Regions from separate parts of the Homo sapiens genome. Here regions 2, 3 and 4 are each linked to region 1. Evidence: promoter capture Hi-C in 16 types of primary human blood cells and fetal thymus (Javierre and others, 2016). All regions are on one chromosome and are shown on one strand. Each heading gives the region's core, a stretch centred on a gene start or on the middle of the fragment in contact. The rest is flanking DNA. Distances are from core to core; before and after follow the strand shown.

Region 1 (2,624 bases), core at 39-2,538:
AGCAATTCACTGTTTTTTTTCCTAGCTCACATTATAGCATTTAACATAACTCATATTAATCATAATTATTGTTGTTAAATTTCTGGCAAAAATCAAAGATACAAGGGAACAGGAATTGTATTTATTATGTTCACTTAAGAAAAATCTTCCTTTACTTAAAATTTGAATAAAATAATGATAGGTAACTGAACTGTACCATCTGTTTTTAATCAAGTTATACAATCAGGCTTGGAGTTTCATTTTAAAGAATAAACAAACAATTAATAGTAAAAATCTAATGAACAAAGCAAAATAATCAGTTGACAAAACATAAAGAACATATTTTATTATATTAGCCACAAAGTAAAGGTGGATGTAATATTACCTGAACAAACATAATTTAAAATAATTTAAATCTTATAAATAAATAAATATTTAAATAGATTAGATAGAAGACAGACAGATAGATAAATAGATAGAATAGATAGATTGGCATGATCATCTGTAAAGATTTTGTCCCTGTGGAGCTAAAGAAGTGTTGCTTAACACGTGTGAAACGTTTGAAAATTTTGATTCAACTCAAGTCATGGATATAGCAGAAATTAATATTTGAAACGGCAGAACTCAAGAAGTGTGAAATGGTGTACTAGTCAATGAGAATCATTTCGATGTTGAACCAGTTTTCATTCCTTCCTCCTTAATCTTTCTTGCAAGTTTGCTGATAAAGAGAAGGATCTCATGATTTCTGCTCTGACAACCTCCCATGCACAAGGGCTGTATTTCTTCTCTGTCAGATAGAGGGTGATTCTTTGAAAGTATTTTCTCACAGTCAGGATAGAGTCCACATTCATCAGAGGAGTGTCTTCCACTCCAACCTCCTGCATCATACAGGCTTCCAGGTCATTCAGCTGCTGGTAAAGTTCAGTGTAGAATTTGTCTAGAAGTGTCTCATCCCAAGTAGCAGATGAGTCCTTTGTGCTGAAGAGATTGAAGGTCTGCTGGATCATCTCATGGAGGACAGAGATGGCTTGAGCCTTCTGGAACTGGTTGCCATCAAACTCCTCCTGAGGAAATCCAAAGTCATGTCTGTCCTTCAGGCAGGAGAAAGGAGAGATTCTTCCCATTTGTGCCATTATCATCAAAGTCCTCCTGTTACTCAGGCTGTGGGTCTGAGGCAGATCACAGCCCAGAGAACAGATTGACTTGCAGTTGAGCACCACCAGGGCCATCAGTAAAACAAAGGGCAAGGCCATTGGGGAGGTTGCAGATGCTTCTGGGCTGTTGAGATTGAGTGACCCTGAACCTTGGGCTCTTCTCTGAAGACCTTGTTTTGTGCACAGATCTTAAAAAGGTCACATACGAGTTTCCATTTTCTGAATGCCTTGTGTTACTTTCTACTTCTCTTTTTGCTTTCTTTTATGCTCTTTCTACATAGATGTACAGGAGTGTTTCTCAGTTTATTTATTTTTACATTATTACCTCATCTTCCTCTGCCACATATGCTTTTTAGAAATTTTTTTTCTAACTAAAAATCCCATTAAATTTTAATAACACAGATATACTATGTGTTGGCTGATGTATATACATTACAGTACCCATTATCGAGAGAGAATATTGTACTTCTTTAATGCTTTAAAAGCAGCGTAATAGAATGTAAAATAGAATTTATTCAGTCCCGGATTAAGAATGAGCAAATGAAAATTCTAAGGTAAAAGTTAATAATTAAATTTACAATTTATGGATATTTAACTTCATAGTTCAATTTGTTTAAGTAACAATGTGATTTATTTACTTATATAAATTGTAGTGTGTCAGATTAAATAAGTAAATTAACAAATTATGAAAATATATAATATTGCCTAGTATAATGAAATATTTAAAAATTCAAAATAGCTAAAGACTATTAAAATTGAAATTATTTGTAACATTTATTTTTAGGGTACTTTCAATTTTGCTTCATAGGGAAATTTAAAAAATTCACTAGCTTCTAGATATTGATCTAGATATTGTCAAAAACCTTTTTCTCTTCAGTGCTTGACATAATTATTGATGTGTTGAACAACTTTAGTAGAATTAAATAGTAAAAGATAAAGTATTTTTATTGAAACCTCAAAACTCAAAACACAGTCATAAATGCTCAGGATCAAATATAAGCAACATACACAAGACAGCAAATGACAGCTCATATGTATACAGAGGCCACCTCACATGATATGACTTTGACATCTAATAAATCTTGGAAAGTCCTCCAATAACAGCCACCCATTTGCCATATGCTTGTAGCACTGATCTTGTATACCTTTTGTGTATCTTCCATGAACTCAAGGTCAATGCTTCTGATGTTACAAGAAAACCAAATTAGGCCAGGCGCGGTGGCTCACATCTGTAATCCCAGCACTTTGGGAGGCTGAGGTGGGTGGATTACAAGGTCAGGAGATCAAGACCCTCCTGGACAACATGGTGAAAGCCCGTCTCTACTAAAAATACAAAAATTAGCTGGGCGTGGTGGCACGTGCCTGTAATCCCAGCTACTCGGGAGGCTGAGGCAGGAGAATTGCTTGAACCAGGGAGTCGGAGGTTGCAGTGAGCCGAGACCACCCCACTGCACTCCAGCCTGGCAACAGAGCGAGACTCCGCCTCAAAAA
Region 2 (2,624 bases), core at 94-2,593, 450 kb after region 1:
TGGATAAAATGATCTCTCAAAAGGAAGAAGGGGGTATCAAGTTCCCCACCCCTCCTCCTTGGTTTTCATTATGTCCCCTCATTGTTTTTTATTTCAAAATTCGAATAATGTGCAAGCTTTGATACATCCAGGTTTTTAATCCTGCCAAGAAAACATTGTACTTTTGAGATAATCAAGTAGACAGCACTACTCTTAATCTTGACAAAAAGAAAAGAAAAAATAAATAAACCACAGAGCTGATGAGAAGACCCTAAAGGACTCAGAGCTTGTAATGACACACATTATTTCCTTTAGTTTGAGTTTTTCCTTTCATGAAGAAAACTCTAAGATATACAAAAATAGTTCTTTATGGCTTGAAGCTCTTATATTGCTAATGGCTTTTGACAGTGGTATTACAGCTTGTTTAATCCAATTGAATTTGATTATTCATTCAGTAAGAAGATAAATTAGTTGACAGAGGAAATGTTTTTCAGTCACTGGTTCATATTAATGTCTGAAAATTCAGTTGTCCAGAAAAAAAGAGATAGGGGTAGAAGAGAAGCCAAAGAGATATAATTCTAATCAAGGATTTTCCTGAAATTTGAATTTGACTATGAAGAAAGTATTGATTGTGGGGAGAAATAATGTTAATTCCCTAAAACACAGGGTGAGAACTTTTTAATGGAGTACACATTACTCATCAAAATATAGTCCCAAACTATATTATCAAACATGTCTAACCCACTTTACACACATACACACACACACACACACACACACACCACCCTACGATGCAGTTATATGAATCTTTATTGTTTACTAAACATAATACATTTCCTCCTTCCCCACTTACGTGCCTTTGCACATTGTATTCTTTGTATCCTCTTCCTAGAATGCTCTTCTTTAAATTGATAAACTTATCCTTCAAAATGCAACAAAAATACCACCTTTTCAATGAAGTCCTTCAGAATCCCCCCAGTGTCCCATAGAAATTTGCATATCCTCTTAATTCAATGTCCTGCAACCTTCTTTGCACATTAGCACCCCTGGGATTTGGCATGATCCTATCAGTAATGCTGTCTCAGTGGGGTTTTATATGAGAAGGGGCTTTCTATGGGTGAGGCAACAATGGTTCTCTCTTGTGAGGTTGAAATTTCCAGGGTATGAGTTTAATTTGAAACACCCACAACTCCCCTTCCCCACCCCTACCCCAGCATAAACTCTGGCATATCCACTTCCTATTCCATGGACAATCACTGCTTCACTGCTCCACTTATTACTGTTGTCATAACATCTTGTGAATATTTGTTTCCGCCTCTCTTTCTGATACTAGATGGTATTATTCATTTTTATGGTCAATGTTCCCCTTCTCACAGTGAAGTATTTCACATATAGGAGGTGCTCAATAAATGTTTGTTCTAAGAACAAGGGCATGAATGAATGAGTAAATGCCTGAGTAACAGAATGATTTCTAGGACATCATAGGATTCGGCATCCTTAACTGGTGAAGAGATGAACCAAAACACAGTTATACTCTTGTGCAGGGAGTGGTCTGGGTAGCTTTAATTTGTCAGTAACCCCCAGCCACATGTTGCTATTGTGTATCTGAAGTGTGAATAATCTGAATTGAGATGTGCTGTGAGTGTAAAACTTCACACTGGATTTAGGAGACAGTATAAATACCTATATATATATCTACATATATATAAAATATATCAGTATCAAAAAGCAAAACATCTCAATTTTTATGTTGATTACTTGTTGAGATATTTTGATCTATTGAGTTGAAGTATATTAGTAAAATTAATTTCACCTGTTTCTTTTTATTTTTCTAATGTGACTGGTAAAAAAAAATTGCATATGTAGCTCACATGGCATGCATTATATTATATTTCTCTTGAACAGCACTGGTCTTAAGAAATGAATCTCAGGCCCTGAATGGTTGAGTCTAACTTTGGCCCACTCAGATGAAAGTCTCTGTGCAGGCAAACGAAGGAAGTTGATGTGCACACTGATCTCCTTGAAAGTGCATTGAAGCTATACTGAAGAGCACTGGGATCAACAGTAATCTTTCAATAATTTCTGGTTCTCCACTATTTTCCAGGTATCTAATCTGATCCACACTTCTCACTGCGCTTCTTATCACATATCATTAGGTATTAGTTGTGTGCACCCTTCACCTCAGCACCAAGGCTGTGTTAGCTTCACTCTTAAGGTCCTTCACCTACTAATAACTTTCCCTTTACCGGGACAACACAGATGCTGCCCAAGCTGCAGTCTTCCTATCCCCTACCCCCAAGTATCTTACTGAGGCACCCCTTGCTATGGATTCCCATTGCACTGATAGCATTTTCAACATTATATTGTAATTTGCTGTGTGTCTCAATAACTAGCCTATAAGTTCTTTGAAGGCAGAGACTCTCACAATCAATATTTAAATGTTACACACCAAGAGAATAAATCAGTTCAGTGATGATCTAATTTGCCCATAAATTTCCATCAAACATCTGCCCTAGAGAAATCATACTTCTTTAAAAAAAAAACATATATTATCTGACATAAAGAAAACATATCAAAGCCCTAGCTGGAATCAAGCTTGATGACTAAAATCTACTTAATCCTCAAAAAGCCTTGTGTCAGGACCC
Region 3 (2,624 bases), core at 65-2,564, 430 kb after region 1:
CACATGGCAAGCTTTGTCCCACTTGTTGAGGCAAATAAGTCAGGCTTTTGTACCCTTCCATCAGTCAATCACCAGCTGTCAGTCAGTGGATAGGAATATTCTCAGGCACTTCCCTCAGTGATGAGACAGTTTATATATCCAAAGACAGTCCTCTGCAGAGGCAAGGGAGCCTTTAGCAAAAGAGAATACGGACGCTGAGGGGACAGGGCATAGTGCTGGGGAAAGGAATTGGAGAGGGAAGCACCTGGGCAGGACAGAGTGTTCACTACAGCAGTCATTGAAAAGATCATAAGCACCATGCCTGGAGCACCGAAAAGATGAAATAAGCCTTGAAATCCAGATGGTTTCTGGCATATCACAGGTCTGCTAGACTTTTCTTTTCTCTCCTCTAACCCAATGCTATCTTTTACTCCCCCTTTTCATCCTTTGCCAAAGACTTTCTGAAAATTGTTTGTAATATCTGGTACACCTAAAGAATCTGTTAGGTCCTCAGTATTAAACAGAAGAGATAAGTGTTTTCACATCCTATCTGATAAAATGAAGGACACAAATTTAAAAATGATTGTCTATTTTTAATGTTATAATTTCATATTTACCTCTCTCATTCTTGGATTTGTTCTTACTCAATAATAGCTTCCAACATTGTAACCTGGAGTTGTTCTCACTCTCTTACTAAATGATTTGAATCCAATTCCAAGAATAATGCTGCCACCCTATTTATAATACACTTGCACCTCCAATTGATTCCTTTCACAGTGCAATCCTCAGGTACAGATGTAAAGTTTTCTACTTCATAATGTAAAAGAATGTAAGAGACTATCTCATGACAGGAAGAAGACTCTACAGAAAAACCTTTTTTTGAAACCCCATAGCCCAGACAGTAGCACGTTATTTTTGGTGAAGAATTATCTGAAAATATAAATGGTATCTTAATCAGTGTTCAATGGAGAACCAAGAAGGGAAAGAGGAAGGAGTAAACTTTGAGGAGAGTCTCTTTTCACTGATTTTGTTTAGGATTGCAAGTACCTAGTGTTTATGAAAAGCAACTGGCTTTTAGTGGGTTCTAATTCTCAGCAGGCAATTCATCCCCTTATTCCTTGCACCCCAGGCAGATCACTTCTACTGCTACCATTCCTCTCCACTTCGGTTTGCTTTTGGGTGATGTAGTTTGTCCTAAGACCAGTGAGTTCCATGAGTATTATCACATTGCCACTCCTTTTGCTGTAAAATAAGTTCCTTGGATAAAAGCCCTATGAAGAAGGATATGATGGCAGTGAATAAGGCACACTGTCATCCAGGAATAGTGGTCTGGGCAAAGGCACTGCAAGCGTGGAAAGCAAATTTGAATTTGGAATACATCTCTGTTCCACGTGGACACATCTTTGCCTTCTCCAGGTGGCCAGCTATTTTTCCCAGGAATCATATTCTATCAGGGGCTCATTGCTGGCCTCTGTGCTACAGCAATGGTCATAGCCAGATCAGCGTTGTTGATGTGCTGTGGCTGAGCTCGTACATACCCTTATTTGTGACGTTATAAAAGTCTTCTCTTGATTCCTGATGTAAGTTTTCAGTTCAAGGCCCTAAACTTATTGTTTTCTTTTAATAAGCTCTCTAACACAGTCAGGCACAGTTGACACACTGTGTCTATAACCTTTGTAACCACCATTGTTGCATAGCAATCAGATGCCACCTTTATGTGATCACTCAAAACCTTGCTCTCCATCACCTAAAACCATCACCAATGATAATTTTAGAAATCGTGGCACTGCTACCTGTCACCCATTAACAGGGTGCGATTTCTGTCTAGCAAGGAGTTTATTCATGTGTCCATAAAACATATGAGCCACTCTAGTTTCAGAATCTTCTCCAGAATGTCTGTTTCATGAGGCTACTCTTGGTACCAACTACTGTATCAGGCAGGGTCTTAACAAGAGAACGTGGGCACACAGCAGGGCAGAAAAGGTGGATAATGGAGCCAGAGGACAGGCGGGCCAATATACAGGATGCTTAACAAGGGCAAGTAATCAAAAACTCATTTATATTAATATTTCTATAAAAGAATTCCTATTGGTTTTGTCATTCTTCCTTAGGTATATATGCATGACTCTTCCTAACCTTTTCTTCTCTTATTCCACAATTCTAGCTCTTGGCTTTCCATCCATATCACACCAATTTGATTTAATACCTGGCTCCACTACTAGACTAATAGCCCAGTAGAGTGAGCACTGCAGAAGCCTTCAGTGTTAGCACCCATGACCATAGCAAACTGTGTGCCTACCAGCTATTTATTTGAGTTTTCAGGACAACCTCTACAAGATACCTAATCCTCTATTTTTCTTAAAATTGTTGGATTTTTTTTCAGCATGTGGGATGTTGCTTGGCCTAAACATGATGAGGCATGGCATAATGAGTGTCAGGAAGGTCAGGAAAATGTAGGGGGGATATTTGTCAAGGAAAAGAAAACAAATAACTTTCTGCCAGATCTTTCATTCCAGACATGCTGGAAACTCACACCATCATAGGCTTGGGTAGTCAAAGCAAACTTTAAGTAGTGCTAAGAAACCTTTGACATGTGTGAATTGGCAGTCCATGTTGCTTCTGATTCAGCATAATTTATTAAGCTT
Region 4 (2,624 bases), core at 49-2,548, 410 kb after region 1:
TCATGTATTGTTATTAATTGTGGCAGTTTCAATCTATTGGTTACAAAACAAACTATTAGAAGTAAGAGAAGCAAAGGGGGGAGGGGGGAGGGATAGCATTGGGAGAGATACCTAATGCTAGATGACGAGTTAGTGGGTGCGGCGCACCAGCATGTCACATGTATACATATGTAACTAACCTGCACATTGTGCACATGTACCCTAAAACTTAAAGTATAATAATAAAAAAAAATGTAATCTGCTTTGTTAGTCTGTTCTATCATTGATATAAAGAAATAGTTGAGCCAGACTTGGTGGCTCATGCCTATAATCCCAGCACTTTGGGAGGCCAAAGTGGGTGGATCATTTGAGGCCAGGAGTTCAAGCCTAGCCTGGGCAACATGGCAAAACCCTATCTCTGCTAAAAATACAAAAATTAGCCGGGTGTGGTGGTGCATGCCTGTAATCCCAGCTACTAGGGAAGCTGAGGCATGAGAATCGCTTGAACCCAGGAAGTAGAGGTTGCAGTGAGCCAAGATCATGCCATTGCACTCCAGCCTGGGTGACAGAACGAGACTCCATCTCCAAAAATCTAACTAAAAACCTTGAGACTGGATAATTTATAAAGAAAGGCAGTTTAATTGGTTCACAGTTCTGCAGGTTCCACAGGAAGCATGATGGCATCTGCTTGCTTCTGGGAGGCCTCAGGAAACCTACGATCATGAAGAAAGGCAAAGGTGGAGTAGGCACTTCACATGGCCAAAACATGAGCAAGAAAGTGAGGGGGAAGTACCACATATTTTTAAACAATCAGGTCTCATGAAAATTCACTCATGTGAGACCTGGTTGTTTTAACGTGAGGACAGTATCAAAGGGATCGTACTAAACCATTCACCAGAACTCCACCCCCTTGATTCAATCATCTCCTACCAGGCTTCATCTCCAACATTGGGGATTATATTTCAATAGAGATTTTGGTGGGGACATGCATCCAAACTATATCATTCTGCCCCTGATACCTCCCAAACCTCATGTCCTTCTCACATTTCAAAATACAATCATGCCTCCCCAATAATCCCCCAAAGTCTTAACTCATTCCAGCATTTACTCAAAAGCCCAAAGTCTGAAGTCTGATCTGAGACAAGGCAATTCCTTTCCACCTGTGAGCCTGTAAAATATAAAACAAGTTAATTACTTCCAAGATACAGTGGGGGTACGAGCATTGGGTAAACATTCCAACTCCAAAAGGAAGACATTGGCCAAAAGAAAGGGGCTATAGGCCCTAGCAAGTCTGAAACCCAGAAGGGAAGTCATTAAATCTTAAACTCCAAAATAATCTCCTTTTACTTCATGTTCCACATCCAGGGCACACTTCTGCAAGGGGTGGGCTCTCAAAGCATTGGGCAGCTCTGCCTCTGTAGCATTACATGATTCAGTCCCCACAACTGCTCTCATGGGCTTGTGTTAAGTGCCTGGAACTTTTCCAGGCACAGAGTGCAAGCTCTTGGTGGATCTACTATTCTGGGGTTTGGAGGACAGTGGCCCTCTTCTCACAGCTCTGCTAGGCTGTGCCCTAGTGCGGACTCTGGGAAGGGGCTCTAACCTCACCTTTCCCCACTGCACTGCCTTAACAGAGTTTCTCCATACGGGTTCCATCCCTGCAGCAGGCTTCGGCCTAGACACCGTGGCTTTTCCATACATTTTCTGAAATCTAGGTGGAGGCTCCCAAGCCTCAACTCTTGCATTCTGCACAGTTGTAGGCTTAACACCACGTGGAAGCTGCCAAGAATTATAGCTTGCACTTTCTGAAACAGCAGCTTGAGCTGTATCTGAGCCCCTTTGAACCATGACTGGAACAGGAACAGCAGAAATGCAGGGAGCAGTGTCCCAACACTGTGCAGGGCAGTGGGGCCCTGGGATTGGCCCATGAAGCCATTCTTCCCTCTTAAGCCTCTGGGCCTGTGATGCAATGAACTGTTTCTTAGATCTCTGAAATGCCTTTGAGATATTTTTCTCATTATCTTATCTATCAGCACTTGCCTTATTTTCAGTTATGCAAATCTCTCTAGCAAGTGGTTCCTCCACAGCCTGCTTGAATTCCTCTCCCAAAAGAAAATGTTTTTTTCTCTGTAACATGTTTAGGCTGAAAATTTTTCAAACTTTTATGCTGTTTCCCTTTAAAATGTAAGTTTCAACTTGAGGTCATTTCTTTTCTCCTGCACATAGGAATAGATTGTTAGAAACAGCCGTGTCACTTCTTGAACACTTTATCGCTTAGAAATTTCTCCTGCCAGATACCCTAGGTCATCACTCTCAAATTAAAACTTCCACGTATCCCTAGGGCATGGACACAAGCCAGACAAGCTCTTTCCTAAGGCATAACATGCATGACCTTTGCACCAGTTCCCAATAAGTTTCTCATTTCCATCTGAGACCTGGTCAGCCTGGCCTTCACTGTCCATATCATTATCAGCATTTTGATCACAACCATTTAACCAGTCTCTAAGAAGTTGCAAACTTTCTCTCATCTTCCTGTCTTCTTCTGAGCCCTCCAAACTATTCCAGCCTCTACCCATTACCCAGTTCCAAAGTCACTTCCACACTTTCGGGTATCTTTATAGCAATGTTCTACTCCTTAGTACCAA

What was found. Contacts are between HindIII fragments. The CHiCAGO score rates a contact against its expected background, and 5 or more counts as called.
Region 2: a contact is called between a fragment that was not itself captured here and the fragment with the promoter of IFNA5 in region 1, in 7 of 17 cell types (M1 macrophages, fetal thymus, total CD4 T cells and 4 more). The highest score is 6.9, in M1 macrophages.
Region 3: a contact is called between a fragment that was not itself captured here and the fragment with the promoter of IFNA5 in region 1, in 1 of 17 cell types (M2 macrophages). The highest score is 5.0, in M2 macrophages.
Region 4: a contact is called between a fragment that was not itself captured here and the fragment with the promoter of IFNA5 in region 1, in 1 of 17 cell types (M1 macrophages). The highest score is 6.2, in M1 macrophages.

Annotation. Positions count from the first base shown.
Region 1 is chr9:21,304,025-21,306,648 of GRCh38, forward strand. It overlaps IFNA5 (interferon alpha 5), which reads right to left and starts at 1,289. Exons shown (of 1, transcript NM_002169.3): 1 at 302-1,289. The coding sequence starts at 1,232. The coding sequence ends at 663. The region is part of intron 2 of LOC107987053 (a long non-coding RNA gene); the gene reads left to right. The HindIII fragment of the contact is 5,226 bases long and covers 1-2,624 here.
Region 2 is chr9:21,755,065-21,757,688 of GRCh38, forward strand. The region is part of intron 1 of LOC107987026 (a long non-coding RNA gene); the gene reads right to left. Among named protein-coding and RNA genes, the nearest start is that of MTAP, 46 kb to the right of the region's middle. The HindIII fragment of the contact is 2,458 bases long and covers 115-2,572 here.
Region 3 is chr9:21,738,817-21,741,440 of GRCh38, forward strand. The region is part of intron 1 of LOC107987026 (a long non-coding RNA gene); the gene reads right to left. Among named protein-coding and RNA genes, the nearest start is that of MTAP, 63 kb to the right of the region's middle. The HindIII fragment of the contact is 2,610 bases long and covers 10-2,619 here.
Region 4 is chr9:21,713,686-21,716,309 of GRCh38, forward strand. The region is part of intron 1 of LOC107987026 (a long non-coding RNA gene); the gene reads right to left. Among named protein-coding and RNA genes, the nearest start is that of MTAP, 88 kb to the right of the region's middle. The HindIII fragment of the contact is 2,938 bases long and covers 1-2,624 here.